5 separate regions of the Homo sapiens genome follow, and regions 1, 2, 3 and 4 are each linked to region 5. The links are contacts of gene promoters, found by promoter capture Hi-C in blood cells and fetal thymus (Javierre and others, 2016). All regions are on one chromosome and are shown on one strand. The core of a region is centred on a gene start or on the middle of the fragment in contact, and the rest is flanking DNA. Distances in the headings are between cores, read along the strand shown. Region 1 overlaps RIPOR2 (RHO family interacting cell polarization regulator 2). Region 2 has its middle 3.0 kb from the start of LINC02828. Region 3 overlaps MRS2 (magnesium transporter MRS2). Region 4 holds the start of GMNN (geminin DNA replication inhibitor). Region 5 holds the start of MBOAT1 (membrane bound glycerophospholipid O-acyltransferase 1).

Region 1 (2,700 bases), core at 3-2,502, 4.7 Mb after region 5:
CTGCCATGCAGGCTCTCAGCTCTGGCTCTTCTCACCCTGCATCCAGGGAAGAGTCTTGGAAAAAGTGCTGGACTCAGAGTCGATGCCTGGGTTCTATTTTAGTGTTGCCAGTAGAGAACTCAGTGGCCTTTGTGGACCTATGTCCTCATCTATCAAACGAAGGGTTTGGACAACCTGATCACCAAAGCTTCTTTTGGCTCTAACATTTGACAATTCCTGCTTCCACCTTTTTCCTCAGGCCATTCCTACTGCCTGAAAATTCTCTGCTGAGCCCTTGCCTCACTTTTCCTCCTACCTTTAATATTTGGCTCTAAAAATCCTGCCTGGCCCATGAAGCCCTGTTCAAACATTACCTCCTTCATGACACTTTCCTTGGTCATCTGTGCTGTACCTGAGTCCTCTTGTAAGTCATCTGTCCCCTGAGTGCAGACTCAATCACACATCTTCCATTTGTTGTAGCTATTTAATACACTTCTCCTCATTGGTTTATAAGCTCTGCGATGTCAGGAACTATGTTTTGTGCTGCATATAGGATAGTAACCTCTATATTAATGAGTGTAGAGGATAGCCAATAAATATTGACTAAACGAGAAATGAGAGCATACACTATCCCTGCTGGTTTCTGCCACCTTTTTCCCTGGAAAAAGAACATAACAAGCCTGCATTTATTGGTGTCTGAACTGTACCTATAGAAGCATATTTCAACCCGACAAGTGACAGCTGGGTCTTGCTCACCGCTTTCTGAACTGCTAAGAGAAAGACCCTGTTATCCTTTGCCCGTGTCTGGCACCCATGATAAGGTTCTCAAGGGAGTGGACATCTTAGGCTATTTCCTTGCCATTGTCACACATATCTGCTTGCACAATGAGAAACTTGTTTGGCCAACACTCTTGACATTTTAGTATGTCCCAAGAATGAATGTCCCGGAGGTTCAGAAGTCAGTCCCCTGTACTTGGGCAAATTATCTTAAGCCTAAACCTCCTCTCCACCCCCACTTCTAGCTTCCACACCAAGTGACCTGTAAGGCTGCATAGGTAGACAACAATCAGTGAAATGTTCAAAGTTGATGGGAAATAAAATATTCTCTAAATATAGCAGTCTCCTTCTCTCCAGAAACTTGAGATTGGATTTCTCATATATTATTATTATATTACATATTTACATATAGAGATCATTTTCTGCAATAATATAATCTAGGCCAACAGTTCCCCCGGCCCTTTTCTTGGTTTCAAGATCCATTGATACAATACCATAATCTAGAATAGCCTTTTTGAATTTTTGGTCCCAAGACCATTTTATGCTTTTAAAAAATATTGAGGACTTTGGGGACCCCTTGAAAGGGTCCTGGGAAACCTCATGAGTCTTTAGTTCACATTTTGAGAATCAGTGATCTAGATGGACAAAAATGTTGGCAAAATGTTAACTTTACAAATTCGTATAGTTCTAAACGCCATAGGCTGAAAGTAAATGGCATACATTTAATCAATATGTATTATTGCACAAAGGTATTAAAATAAGTATAACATGATTCAAAGCAGTTGTAGAAGTGATTGGAAAGTATCAATATCTACGTGTAAGCACAATGCTAAGTACTTGATATGTAGTAGGCTTTTTTTTCTTTCTTTTTTTCTTGAGACGGAGTCTTGCTCTGTCACCCAGGCTGGAGTGCAATGGCGCGATCTTGCCTCACTGCAACCTCCGCCTCCCGGGTTCAAGTGATTCTCCTGCCTCAGCCTCCCGTGTAGCTGGGATTACAGGCGCGTACCACCAGGCCTGGCTAATGTTTTGTATTTTTAGTAGAGACGAGGTTTCAACATGTTGGCCAGGCTGGTCTCGAACCCCTGACCTTGTGTTCTGCCCGCATCAGCCTCCCAAAGTGCTGGGATTATAGGCGTGAGCCACCACGCCCAGCTGTAGTAGGCTTTTTTAAAGGTTCTAAGTTGACTTTCACTTCACAATATCTTTCCTTTTTCTCTCATGATCAGGGGAAACATTAAAAAAAGAGACGTATCTGTAAAGGTCTTCCAAGGTGATTTATTTATTCTGTGTCCCTGGGTCTGATGCAGTCCCTGGTTTGCAGGTTATCCCATGTTGCCCCTTTCTGTCCATCTCCATCTTCTGTCTCCTGGAGGGCTCACCTGTAGGGACCACGTCAGTGGCCGCCCTGTGATGTCCAGGTGGGTCTAGCCAATGGGGATCCCCAACAGGAGATGAAAGTGAGGTGGGAATATGCATTCCCTGGCTCCTCCCTATGAGGTCACCTTGGGCCCCAGTATCCCCTGCATCCCCATCCCCCTTGTAACTCGTCTCATTGTAAATAAGCTTCCTTGAATTATTCTAACATGAGGGAGCCGTCAGCTTCCTGACATTGGCTTGATTGATAATCATTAATCATTACCTATTATTGAAAAATTTAAAGTATCTGCTTTTATCCAGTCATTCATATTTTAAAAATATTTCTTCTTCAGGTAGCTCCTTTAATTTAATTTAATTTTCATTTCTCTTTCCATTGTAGGCCAGTGATGTTATTGCATGTAATCCTGTTTAATTCTTTTCCAACTCCCTGCCCCCACCTATGCAAAGATCTTCCCAAAGTTTAGTTCCTCCCTAATTCATAAAGTTGGGACCATTAACTTCAGGAGCTACTTTTAGGAGGAATTACAGGCCCAGAAGCCCTATTGCTTAAAACTTTGTCACTGA
Region 2 (2,700 bases), core at 8-2,507, 4.5 Mb after region 5:
ATCCTAGCACTTTCGGAGGCCAAGGCGGGTGAATCACCTGAGGTCGGGAGTTCGAGACCAGCCTGACCAACATGGAGAAACTCTACCTCTACTAAAAATACAAAATTAGCTGGGTGTGGTGGCCCATGCCTGTAATCCCAGCTACTCGGAAGGCTGAGGCAGGAGAATCGCTTGAATCCAGGAGACGGAGGTTGCGGTGAGCCGAGATTGTGCCATTGCACTCTAGCCTGGGCAACAAGAGCGAAACTCCATCTCAAAAAAAAAAAAAAAAAAAAGAATATTTAAAGCATCATTATTCATAGTAGCTCCAAATAAAACATAACCTAACCTAAATGTCCATCAACAGTAGAATGGATAAATAAATTGTGATATAATATAGGCATACAAAGAAATGTTTTACAATAATAAATGATAGCTACATGCAACAACATGGATGAATCCCACAAACATTACATTGAGCGAAAGTAGCCAGACACAAAATAATGCTAACTATATAAGTTTGTATAATACAAACTATATAACCATATAAGACTATATTTATATAGGTTGAAGAAAAACAAATCTAATCTATAGTAGCAGAAGTCAAGATAGTGATTACCCTTGGGAGGAAAAAGAAAATAGTGCCCTAGTTATCTACTGGTAAGTAAAAAACCACTCTGAACTTAGCAACTTCGAACAACCACCACAATGTGCTTTGCCAACAAGTCTGCAATTTCGGCAGGGCTTGGAGGGGACAGCTCATCTCTGCCTCAACAGCATAAGCTTGGACAGTTCAAAGGCTGGGGGCAGTGAGGGCGGGTGTTGTTGGGGACTTGAGACTTGGAGGTGAAATCACTGGGAGTCTTACCCACTTACATGTCTGGCAGTTAATGCCGACTGTTTGCTGGGACCTCAGGGACTGTTGGCCAGAATACCTACACTTGTCCTCTCATGTAGCTGCATGGTTTTTCTTTATCATGGTGGCTGGATTCCAAGAGCAAACATCCCAAGAAACAGGAAGAGAAAGCTGCCAGTTTCTTAAGGCCTGGCCTGAAAACTGGCACAGTATCACTTCTGCAGTACTCTATGGGTTAAGCTGTCAATCTTGATTCAAGGGCAGGAGATAGAGACATTATTTCTCGATGTGAGGAATGGTGTCAAAGTAGTATTTGGGGACTATATTTTATAATCGCTGTAAGCTTTAATTAGGAGCACATGAGAGGAGAGGGTGCTTCTGGGGTTCTGGTTTCTTGAGCTAGGTGGTGATTATACAGGTATCTTCACTCTCTAATGATTCCTTCATCTGTACATATGGTTTGTGCACCTTCCTGAGCATATGTTTCAACTCCAATAAAAGAAAAGCTTAAAAAGGATGCAAACATTCTTTATGTCCAGATATAGAACAATCCCTAAGACATAGTAACATGCTATCATGGTTAAGTACTGAGCTCTGAGGGCTTGCCTGCTGGGTTCAAATCTAGTTCTGCCAATCCTAGGCTTTGTGTCTCAGTTTTCTCATTTGTAAAATGGGGATTATAATAGCTCTTACTCCAGGAGGTTATCTCAAGGATTAAATGAGTTAAAACATGCAAAGCATTCAGAATACTAATAGAAAAATAGAAAGTGCTTGAGAACTGCTTGCTATTTTTGTTATATTAAATGAAAATTGCAATTTGTATAGGTAAAGCAGTGTCTACAGTATGATGCCTTATATGGTTTGGCTGTGTCCCCACCCAAATCTCATCTCAAATTGTAGCTCCCATAATCCCCTTGTGTCATGGGAGGGACCCGGTGGGCAGTAATTGAATCATGGGGGTGGGTTTTTTCCATGTTGTTCTCATGATAGTGAATAAATCTCACAAGATCTGATGGTTTTATAAAGGGCAGTTCCCCTGCATACCTGCCCTTGCCTGCCACCATTTAAGATGTACCTTTGCTCCTCCTTCACCTTCTGCCATGATTGTGAGGCCTCCCCAGCCATATGGAACTGTGTGTCCATTAAACCTCTTTTTCTTTATAAATTACCCAATTGTGAATATTTCATCATAACAGTATGAGAACAGGCTAATACACTGCCATTTGTGGGAAAATGAGTAGACGTACCCATGGGTACAAACTAGCTATAAGATCAGGATATACAATAAACTAATAACGTTGGTTGCCTGTGGGAGGGAGATTTTTCACAGTGTAGACTTTGGTACCTTTTGAATTTTCAACTATATGAAGGCTGCATCTGGGAAATGGGTCTGGGTAGGGAAGAGGACTGTTGCTTTTTTATTGAGTGAAAGTAGCCAGACACAAAAATTTAGTGTTATATTTTCTACAATGTACATGATAAACATACTAAAAGAAAAGACAAGATGGGTCAGATTACAGAGGGCCTTATAAAAGACCAGGCATGGAAATTTAGAGTTGATTAAGGCCTGAAAATGGCACTGGCAATGGTGATAAAAGGATGAATTTAAACACTTAATAGAAAAAATCTAGAAAGTAAAATATCTGGATAGAAAATGATAGAGGTAAGTGAAGAGGACACCCAAGTTTTGGTGCGAGTAACTGTTACGGACTGAATTGTGCCTCCCCAAAATTCATATATTGAAATCCTAATCCCTAGTATGCTTCAGAATGTGCCTGTATTTAGAGATAAGACCTTTAAAGAGATGATTAAGGTTAAAAAATTATTAGAGAGGTGAAAAAGTTATTAGAGTGGTCTCCAATCCA
Region 3 (2,700 bases), core at 187-2,686, 4.2 Mb after region 5:
CACTGCACTCCAGCCTGGGCAACAGAGCAAGACTCTGTCTCAAAAAAAGAATACAAAGTCAAACGTGAAATACTGAAAGTTAGTTCTTTGCAGGTGAAATAATTGCAAAGAACACTTAAGAAATTCATAAAGCTATGGAATCTGAGAAAGAAAAATTTAATTTGTGCTGTTTGAAATAGTTTAGAAAGTGAGCTGGTTACAAAGTAAATATTTTTTTCTTTATAATTTGTATGATTTAAAAAATTTTTTTAAGTTCCATTAAAGAAAAAAAGGGTACATATAAATATTGAGATGCAAAAATATTCAGCATATGTTGCTAATTTGGAAGGAGGGAGACTGCAAAGCAGTATGTATAAGTATGTTTTATTAGGAAAATGTTTGGAAGGATATTCAGTGAAATATTGACATGGTTTTCTCTAAAATTTGTCATTTCAGGTGATTAATATAGTTTTATGTTACGTATATTTATTTTCAAATTTTCTGCAGTGGGTTTATGTATTTGTGAAATATAAGGCTGAAAGCTAGACTATTACACAAATATAAAGCTTTCTTTGATATAAATTTTCCTTTAATGTTCTATGGAACTTATATATTCATATTAATTTTATTTTTGCTGATGAGAAGCAAGATAAAATATATATATTGTGAGTTTTTATTGTGTGATTAACACAGCATGTATATTTCCATGGTAGTAACCCAAGACCTATATTGTACTTAAACCTGTATGTTGGAGTGTCTTTCTGAAATGTGTCTGTCGTAGTAAGTAGTACAGCTCAGCACATAGTGATTCATTAAATGTTTCACAGCTTCAAACTTGACTGTGGATAAACATCACTGAAAGATAGTCCCCTACTTTGCAGGAAATAGGTGCATTTTCTGTATCAAATCCTCTCTTCAAACTATCAGAAGGGGTTCTGTAAATCTTTATTGATTCTGCAACACCCACCAAAGAGACTTTGGCCTCATGTAGACATTTAGATTCACAAGGCGGGCCATACTTGGTCCCAGTCTACTCAGAAGGATAAGGGACAGGAGAAACAACAGGGTAGTGTTAGGTGTTTCCTCTTCAAAAGAAGTCTTTGCAGCCATCCAGGGGCTTCTCTGGTCCTCTGAGTGATCGCTCAGTGACAAGGAGATAAGATTCTCAAAGGTGGATGTGAGATTCATCTTGGCTCGAATCCCCATGCCCCGTAGTGACAGTATCCCTTGTAACCATCGCAGGGGCACAGTGTCCAGGATTCTGGCTGGGAACATGGCCACAAGAGCCACCACAATCAGGAAAGGGCAAAGAGAGCTATTGCTTTTCACCTGATAACTGTAATTTGTTCGTCTTCCCAGTCCAGTGCAGTCTACCAGTCAATGGTCATTTTTACCATAAGGATTGTTACCTAGTAACAACACAACTGATACTCCTTTATCAACTTTCTAGAGGAACCAAGATAGAAAGTTAAACCCAGGTCTGATTTTTCCTATCAAAGGAAAAAAGGATTTTAAAAAAACCCTTAACTCATAACTGGATTTAATCTAAAGAAGGTCAGTAATGGTTTATATTTGCATTTCAACATTTTGGGGATATTACTTACAATACCATAAATTCTTAACTAAATTAGCAATACCATAAGTAGCATTCTAATTTGAAAGAAAATCATAATTTGTTTTATTCTCTATTTTCAGACAAAATTTGACAAACAGGGAAACGTTACTTCTTTTGGTGAGTGATTAGCATTCTAAATCATTTTTTAAACATTTAATGAGTGAATCTGATAGAAATCAAGAAATTGTAGTATTTTGAGTAAAATATTCTTTGCATATACAGGTGTGTTGAAAGAGATCTTTCTTCAGCATTTGTCCATCAGTCTTAATTGGAGCTGGCAATACTCAGACTGTGTGTATTCTCCCAGAATTGTTTTCTTCTAGCAGGAGCCACTTTTTGCTCTAACAGGCTATTGAAGGAATATTTGGGAGAGCAGAGGCTGGTGTAGAACTGGAGCCCAGAGACACACTCTTTTTCTCTTTTGTCTCTCTTGTTGGCGTCCCTTTCACTGCCCTCATTCATTCTCCTGAAGCATGTTTAAGGCAGAGTCACATAATACCACTGACATTGCAGTGGGTGACAAAAGATGAACAGGGCCATGTCACTGCATGGCAGCCACATGGAACTCTGCTGCTGATGGCTCTCTGTGGACAGCTACTTTAAAAAGTGAGACTAGGCATTACTTTACAGTGTGACTTCAGATGTGAGTTTCACATCTCCCTTGAGAATGAATCAGTCTCAGGTAATAAATTCAGCTTTTCTCATTTTTGTATTAGTCTAAGAACAAAGAAAATCAAGCTTATCTGTTCACATATATAAAATACTGAAGATGATGTTGTAGTAAAAATAGAAAATATAGTTGTGTACAGTTTATATTTAAGAGAGATAACCTGTCTCTAGAGCTGGACATTTATAGGTTCTAATGATGCATAGTTGTGGTTTCTGTATTAGTCTCAAGGGTCTTCTAAGTAGTGAGAAAGTTATGAGGTATAGATAAGAAAATCATTAGTTTGACTCTATTTAGCCCGAGTATGTTTTCTAGGTAAAAATGGATATTAAAAGACTTAATTTTAGTTTTTGTTTCTGGTAGTAACCAAAAATTGTCTTGATGGTGGTGGGAGGACTGCTCTGATGGAAAAATCTAAGCCATTTAATGTATTTGGTTT
Region 4 (2,700 bases), core at 80-2,579, 4.6 Mb after region 5:
TCAGCAGTTATCAACACAAGGCCAATACTGTTTTATTCGCACCAGTGGTTCTCAACTGGGGATGATTTTGCCCTGCGGAAGGTTATCTGACAAGGTCTGCAGACATTTTTGGTCTTCACAATTGGGATGTACTCCTGGTAGCTAGAGGGTAGAGGCCAGGGATACTGCTAAACAGCATACAATGCCCAGGACAGCCCCCACCACGAACAATTTGCCCAGTCTAAAATGTCAATAGAGCCCATACTGAGAAAGCTTGATTTATACCTTTTCCCTTGCTTCTCTCAATAATTATTTCAAATAAAATATATGGTATAAAATTTCATCTGTAATTACCATTTATAGGTAGAAGCTATTACAATAAAACCCACAATATTGTCATTACAACTAATCTCTTTTTTTAACCCATTGCTCATCAGGTAACCTTAAACAACTCATATCTTACCATCCCAAAATATTCAGTCAGTGTTCAAATTTCCCTTGGGTATTTTTTTAAATACAGTGTTTAGTTCAGACGAGATCCATACATTGCATTTGGTAATATGTCCCTTATTTGTACTCGATAACGCCTTCCTTCTGCTTTTTATTTTTAAAATATTTTAAAATTAATTTTTTTTTGAGACAGGGTCTCCCTTTGTCTGTAGTCCCAGCTACTCGGGAGGCTGAGGCAGGAGAATCGCTTGAACCCGGGAGGCGGAGCTTGCAGTGAGCCGAGATCGCGCCACTGCACTCCAGCCTGGGTGACAGAGCGAGACTCCGTTTCAATTAAAAAAAAAAAAAAGAAGGAAAAGGCTAGACGTAATTATTACCAAGGTGTTTCTGCTCCTTCAAATTGCAACAGCAGTTGTAATTTCAGTGCCTAGAACAGTAGTAATTGGCACGTATAAGGCGCTCAATGAATAGCTGCAGGATTAACTGATAATCGGTTGTCTCCTGAACAATTCCTACCGCACCACACCATAGTCAAAACACAAAAAGCCAAAATATAAAAGCCCCTAATACAACTACGAGTCCGTGGAGCCAGGGCTTTACACAAATATATGTCGTGTACTACATATTAATATATATGCACATACAATATTTTGTTCTTCTGGTGCTAACGACTAATGGAGGCAAATCTTTCTCCCTTTCGTAAAGGGCTAAAACTTTGCATTTTAAGGAAGTTCCAAGAGCAGGGTCGGAGGGGAGGGTCAAAGGGCACAGGCCTCCCAGCCCGCAGAAAACCCCCACGGTCCTCAAGTACTCGCTACCGTTGACCGCGCAGGCGCAGGAAGGGGCGGGGCCGAGGGAAGAGGCGATTCGCGGGATCCAGAGGCCCCGCCCCTCGTCTGCGTCAGTTGGTCACGTGGTTGTTCGGAGCGGGCGAGCGGAGTTAGCAGGGCTTTACTGCAGAGCGCGCCGGGCACTCCAGCGACCGTGGGGATCAGCGTAGGTGAGCTGTGGCCTTTTGCGAGGTGCTGCAGCCATAGCTACGTGCGTTCGCTACGAGGATTGAGCGTCTCCACCCAGTAAGTGGGCAAGAGGCGGCAGGAAGTGGGTACGCAGGGGCGCAAGGCGCACAGCCTCTAGACGACTCGCTTTCCCTCCGGCCAACCTCTGAAGCCGCGTCCTACTTTGACAGCTGCAGGGCCGCGGCCTGGGTAAGGGCGAAGGGGTTGTTGAACGGTCGCGGGAGCCGGGGCGGGGTTGGGAGGTGAGTCGAGGGACTGCCCCATTGGCTGGGTCGGTTTTGGCGCGCTCTCACTTCCGCGCTTCCTATTGGCTGGCTGGCGCAGTTCCCGAGGCGCGCGCCGCGGTTGGTAGGCTCGGACGCGCGGGGCCACACTGCCCGCCCCCTAGCCTGGCGCTGGGCCTCCGGGACAAGTTGGCTGGGTCCGGGCTTGGGGACTGCAACGCGGGTAAGGGACTCAGCCTGGGCTTGCCAGCTGTGGGGATGAGGCGAAGCATCCATCCTCTTGGCAGTTAAGTGGCTGGTCCTGATCTGAGGGATCTGCAAATTTGGCTCATGGAAAGAGGTGGCTGAATTCTGCGTCTCCCATTAAACGGATACTGGCGTTGTTGATACGGGTTTCGCATGGACCCTGTCCTGTGCCAGGGTTTTTAATCTAGCTATTAAAGGAACTGGAGAATAACAAGTAAGGGTTGCAAGGTCGCTGACAGGCGTGGGAAACTTGTGAAGGATTAGAATGCTAAGTGGCTTTCAGCTTTTTTCACACTAAGGTACGTTTTACGTCGCAACCTAGGACACAGCTATCTAACCAAATGAGACGTGATGGAAGCAATGTTTCTCGTCTCTTCAATTCCATTCTGTTCAGTTGCATTTTTCTAAGCAGTGTTGCTCATGACTCACTAATTTCGAGATCACGGCCCGCGACCCGCAGTTTGAAGAACATTGCGTAGGGTCTGTTTACTGGGGCCCGAACACCATTTTCTTAACATGAAATAGAGTAGAAAATAGCAGGATGCCCGCACAAATTAGATTGTTTTGTTTTCTAAGCTTTTTTTTTTTTTGAGACGGAGTCTCGCTCTGTTGCCCAGGCTGGAGTGCAGTGGCAGGATCTCGGCTCACTGCCACCTCCACCTGTCGGGTTCAAGCGATACTCCTGCCTCAGCCTCCCGAGTAGCTGGGACTACAGACGAGCACCACCACGTCCGGCTAATTTTTGTATTTTTGGTAGAGATGGAGTTTCACCATATTGGCCA
Region 5 (2,700 bases), core at 201-2,700:
CTTCCCAAGTTTCTGACTTTCTGTATTCTGCAACTGATGAGAACGCAATGGTCACATCAGGTGGAGTTCTCAGTCAGGTCCTCAGAGTGAGCCAGGTATGAGGGTGGCTCAGTAAACAGGACCCGAATAAGGCAAATGTCCAGGTCTCACTTTCTCATTGCTGAAGGGGTGTGCGCAAAGGGCAGCAGGTGTGCTCTTGTTAAAAGGAAAGGAAAAGGAGCACTGGTGAGAGGAAGGGGAAGAAAACCAGGCAAAAAAGCATGAAACAAAACAGGAGCGCAGTGGGTCCTCCCCCAGCATGCCCTGCCCAATTCTATTTAAATCAACATTTACTGATTGGGTCACTACTAAGTATCCCGCAGATCTAGCCTGCAGCACCTGAAGAGACAAGGAAATGAGTAAGACGGGCTTCATCTTCAGGAAGGTTTCTTGCCAGGAATCACTGTTGTTGCCATTTTTAATTTTAATGGTTGTAGATAATTCCTGGACAGTTCAAATAACTTCACTGGGGCCCCTCTCCTCCCCCTAACCTGTCCTACTCAGAAGCTCCAGCCCCAGGCATATGAGCCAACCGAACCCTGGGAAAACCAAAGTGTCCTTGTGTGTCCCGCATCACACACGGTACAAAATAACTGTCACCCCTGAACAAGCCTCGCCTCAGAAGTCTAAAACCCAGGTCCTGCATTCAAAATCTATAGACTACCGTCTACAGATTCATCGCGCTTGTTTTTTAAGTAGGGTCATCTAAATTAAAAACAATAACGACTTGAGGACACTGATGAAAGAAACACTGGTTTCATGTATCAGACTACTTCAGAACTTGATTACAGGAAACGAGGCAATCCCAAACTTAAAGAAAAAAAAGTTCAGTAGAACTTGCCGCGCAGGCTGTACCAATATTTTTTCACACTTACAAGGAGAAAAACACTAACACCAACTCAAGAAGGGAAAACACACACACACACACACACACACACACACACACAAAAACCAACTGTCTAGTGTGTGGCTGTAAAATACGCCATGGAGGCGGAGGGACGGTGGCTAACACTTTCGCCCGCCCCGTGCACGCGATCGCTGGGGAGCTGGGGTCGCTGCGCTCCCGGCCTGCAGTTACCTGGTCCAGCGGGATGCCCAGGAGCTCGCTGAGCGGGTGCAGGTAGGTGGAGCCCGTGGTGCGGTAGGAAAGGCTGGACGGCTGCGGCTCTGCTGCCATCCTGCATCTTCGGGAGGTGGCTGCCCCTGTCCCAGCCCGCAACACCCCCTGCTCGGCGTCCTCCCGCCCGGGTGCTCTTGGGTGGTTGCCCCGAGAGGCGCACGGCCGCCTGGTTCGCGGGGGAGCGAACGGGAGGCCGGGGAATGCGAACCGGCGCAAACTCTCGAGGCGCAAACTCTCGAGGCGCAAACTTGGCTTTGGCGCTGGCGCTGCAGCCACGGGCGCCGTAGGAGGGCCGGGCCCAAGGCGCCCCGCTTCCCGCTCCCTTCCTCTCCGCGCCCATTGGCCCGGCCGCTCGGGACGGCCCCGAGAGGAGGGAAGGAGGGAGGAAAAGTGGGGACTCCGAGCCCGGCCCCCAAGCGCCGCCCGGCCCGCCCAGCCTGGCCTGCACCGAGGCCGACCGGGAGAGGGAAAGCGACGCCAGCGGGCGCCGCCGCCTGGCCCTGCAGCTGGAGGCGGGACGCGCCTTTCCTCCTCCCGGGCTGACCGTCCTAGCCCCCCGCCAGACAAAACGACCTCACCCAGCGGGCGCCTTCCACTAGAGAGCACCACCCACCCCGCCCCACCCTGTTTTGGTTTCGCCGCCGCAGTCGAAGCGGCTGAGTGGCTGCGTTTCCCTTTCAAGCCGTAGAGGGTTCCTCTGCCGGTGGCTGGAAGCTGGAGCGCCGCAGCCACCAGACTCCCTACTTCCTTTACCCTCCTCTGCGCTAGGCATAGTTTCCTACACCCTGATCTGACATGTTCGGTGTCACACAAGCAAATACAGGGGACTGCTAGCTTCGGGTCACTTCCGTCTCTGTGGAGTGAGAGTTATTTCACCTCTGTAAGAAACGGTGTTTACTGTCATACTATGTGCATTCTGATAAGTCATTTGCATGCCACGGGTCCTCAAAAAGGGTGCCTTGCTCCTTAACTTGTCTGCCCCCGAACACCCACACATCAATGTTACTTGGAAAACTTTTCCAAGTTATTGCTAGGTTCTGAGAAACATAAAAATCTTGAAGATCCTTTTCAGGAATCGCTAGCTGATGAAAAAGGGTTTCAGGAAGGTAATATTCTGGGCTGCTGGGTAGAAAACCAAAGAAAGTGAGCTCACGTGGCCCCCAGCCTCCGCTGGGTAAACCGGCATTCGATCAGACAGGCAATGACTTTCGGGGCCGACTTTATCAATGTGGCCTCCAGCTTCAAATTAAACCGAAGGCCTGTCAGGCACTGGCAACAACTTACTCTCCAAGACTCAGGCCTCACTCTTGCCTTCTTCAGGAGTTTTATCACCATCAAACTGCACTGAGCATTAAATTGCCAGGCCAGAGTTTCTCAACCTATGTCCCCTGTGGAGGAGGAAAAAAAAAAGTCTGTACCACCACTCCCACAAGCTAACCGAATGGAGATGTCACCACCAGATGATAATCTCTACCACTCACAAGCAAACCCACACTACAGACAGACAGACACATGCACACACGCACACAGGCATATACTTG

What was found. Contacts are between HindIII fragments. The CHiCAGO score rates a contact against its expected background, and 5 or more counts as called.
Region 1: a fragment that was not itself captured here is called in contact with the fragment with the promoter of MBOAT1 in region 5 in 1 of 17 cell types (neutrophils); the score reaches 6.6 in neutrophils.
Region 2: a fragment that was not itself captured here is called in contact with the fragment with the promoter of MBOAT1 in region 5 in 1 of 17 cell types (M0 macrophages); the score reaches 7.2 in M0 macrophages.
Region 3: a contact is called between a fragment that was not itself captured here and the fragment with the promoter of MBOAT1 in region 5, in 3 of 17 cell types (M0 macrophages, M2 macrophages and endothelial precursors). The highest score is 9.6, in M0 macrophages.
Region 4: the fragment with the promoter of GMNN here is called in contact with the fragment with the promoter of MBOAT1 in region 5 in 1 of 17 cell types (neutrophils); the score reaches 5.1 in neutrophils.

Annotation. Positions count from the first base shown.
Region 1 is chr6:24,915,916-24,918,615 of GRCh38, forward strand. All of the region lies in intron 1 of RIPOR2 (RHO family interacting cell polarization regulator 2), which reads right to left. Among named protein-coding and RNA genes, the nearest start is that of RIPOR2, 19 kb to the right of the region's middle. RefSeq lists an enhancer at 1,994-2,493. The HindIII fragment of the contact is 2,135 bases long and covers 186-2,320 here.
Region 2 is chr6:24,737,974-24,740,673 of GRCh38, forward strand. No RefSeq gene overlaps it. Among named protein-coding and RNA genes, the nearest start is that of LINC02828, 3.0 kb to the right of the region's middle. The HindIII fragment of the contact is 163 bases long and covers 1,177-1,339 here.
Region 3 is chr6:24,406,734-24,409,433 of GRCh38, forward strand. It overlaps MRS2 (magnesium transporter MRS2), which reads left to right. Exons shown (of 11, transcript NM_020662.4): 3 at 1,675-1,711. Among named protein-coding and RNA genes, the nearest start is that of MRS2, 5.1 kb to the left of the region's middle. The HindIII fragment of the contact is 1,787 bases long and covers 544-2,330 here.
Region 4 is chr6:24,773,608-24,776,307 of GRCh38, forward strand. GMNN (geminin DNA replication inhibitor) reads left to right here and starts at 1,330. Exons shown (of 7, transcript NM_015895.5): 1 at 1,330-1,637. RefSeq lists an enhancer at 2,245-2,324. The HindIII fragment of the contact is 2,242 bases long and covers 251-2,492 here.
Region 5 is chr6:20,211,019-20,213,718 of GRCh38, forward strand. It overlaps MBOAT1 (membrane bound glycerophospholipid O-acyltransferase 1), which reads right to left and starts at 1,451. Exons shown (of 13, transcript NM_001080480.3): 1 at 1,118-1,451. The coding sequence starts at 1,216. RefSeq lists a silencer at 1,257-1,796 and an enhancer at 1,979-2,479. The HindIII fragment of the contact is 5,898 bases long and covers 1-2,700 here.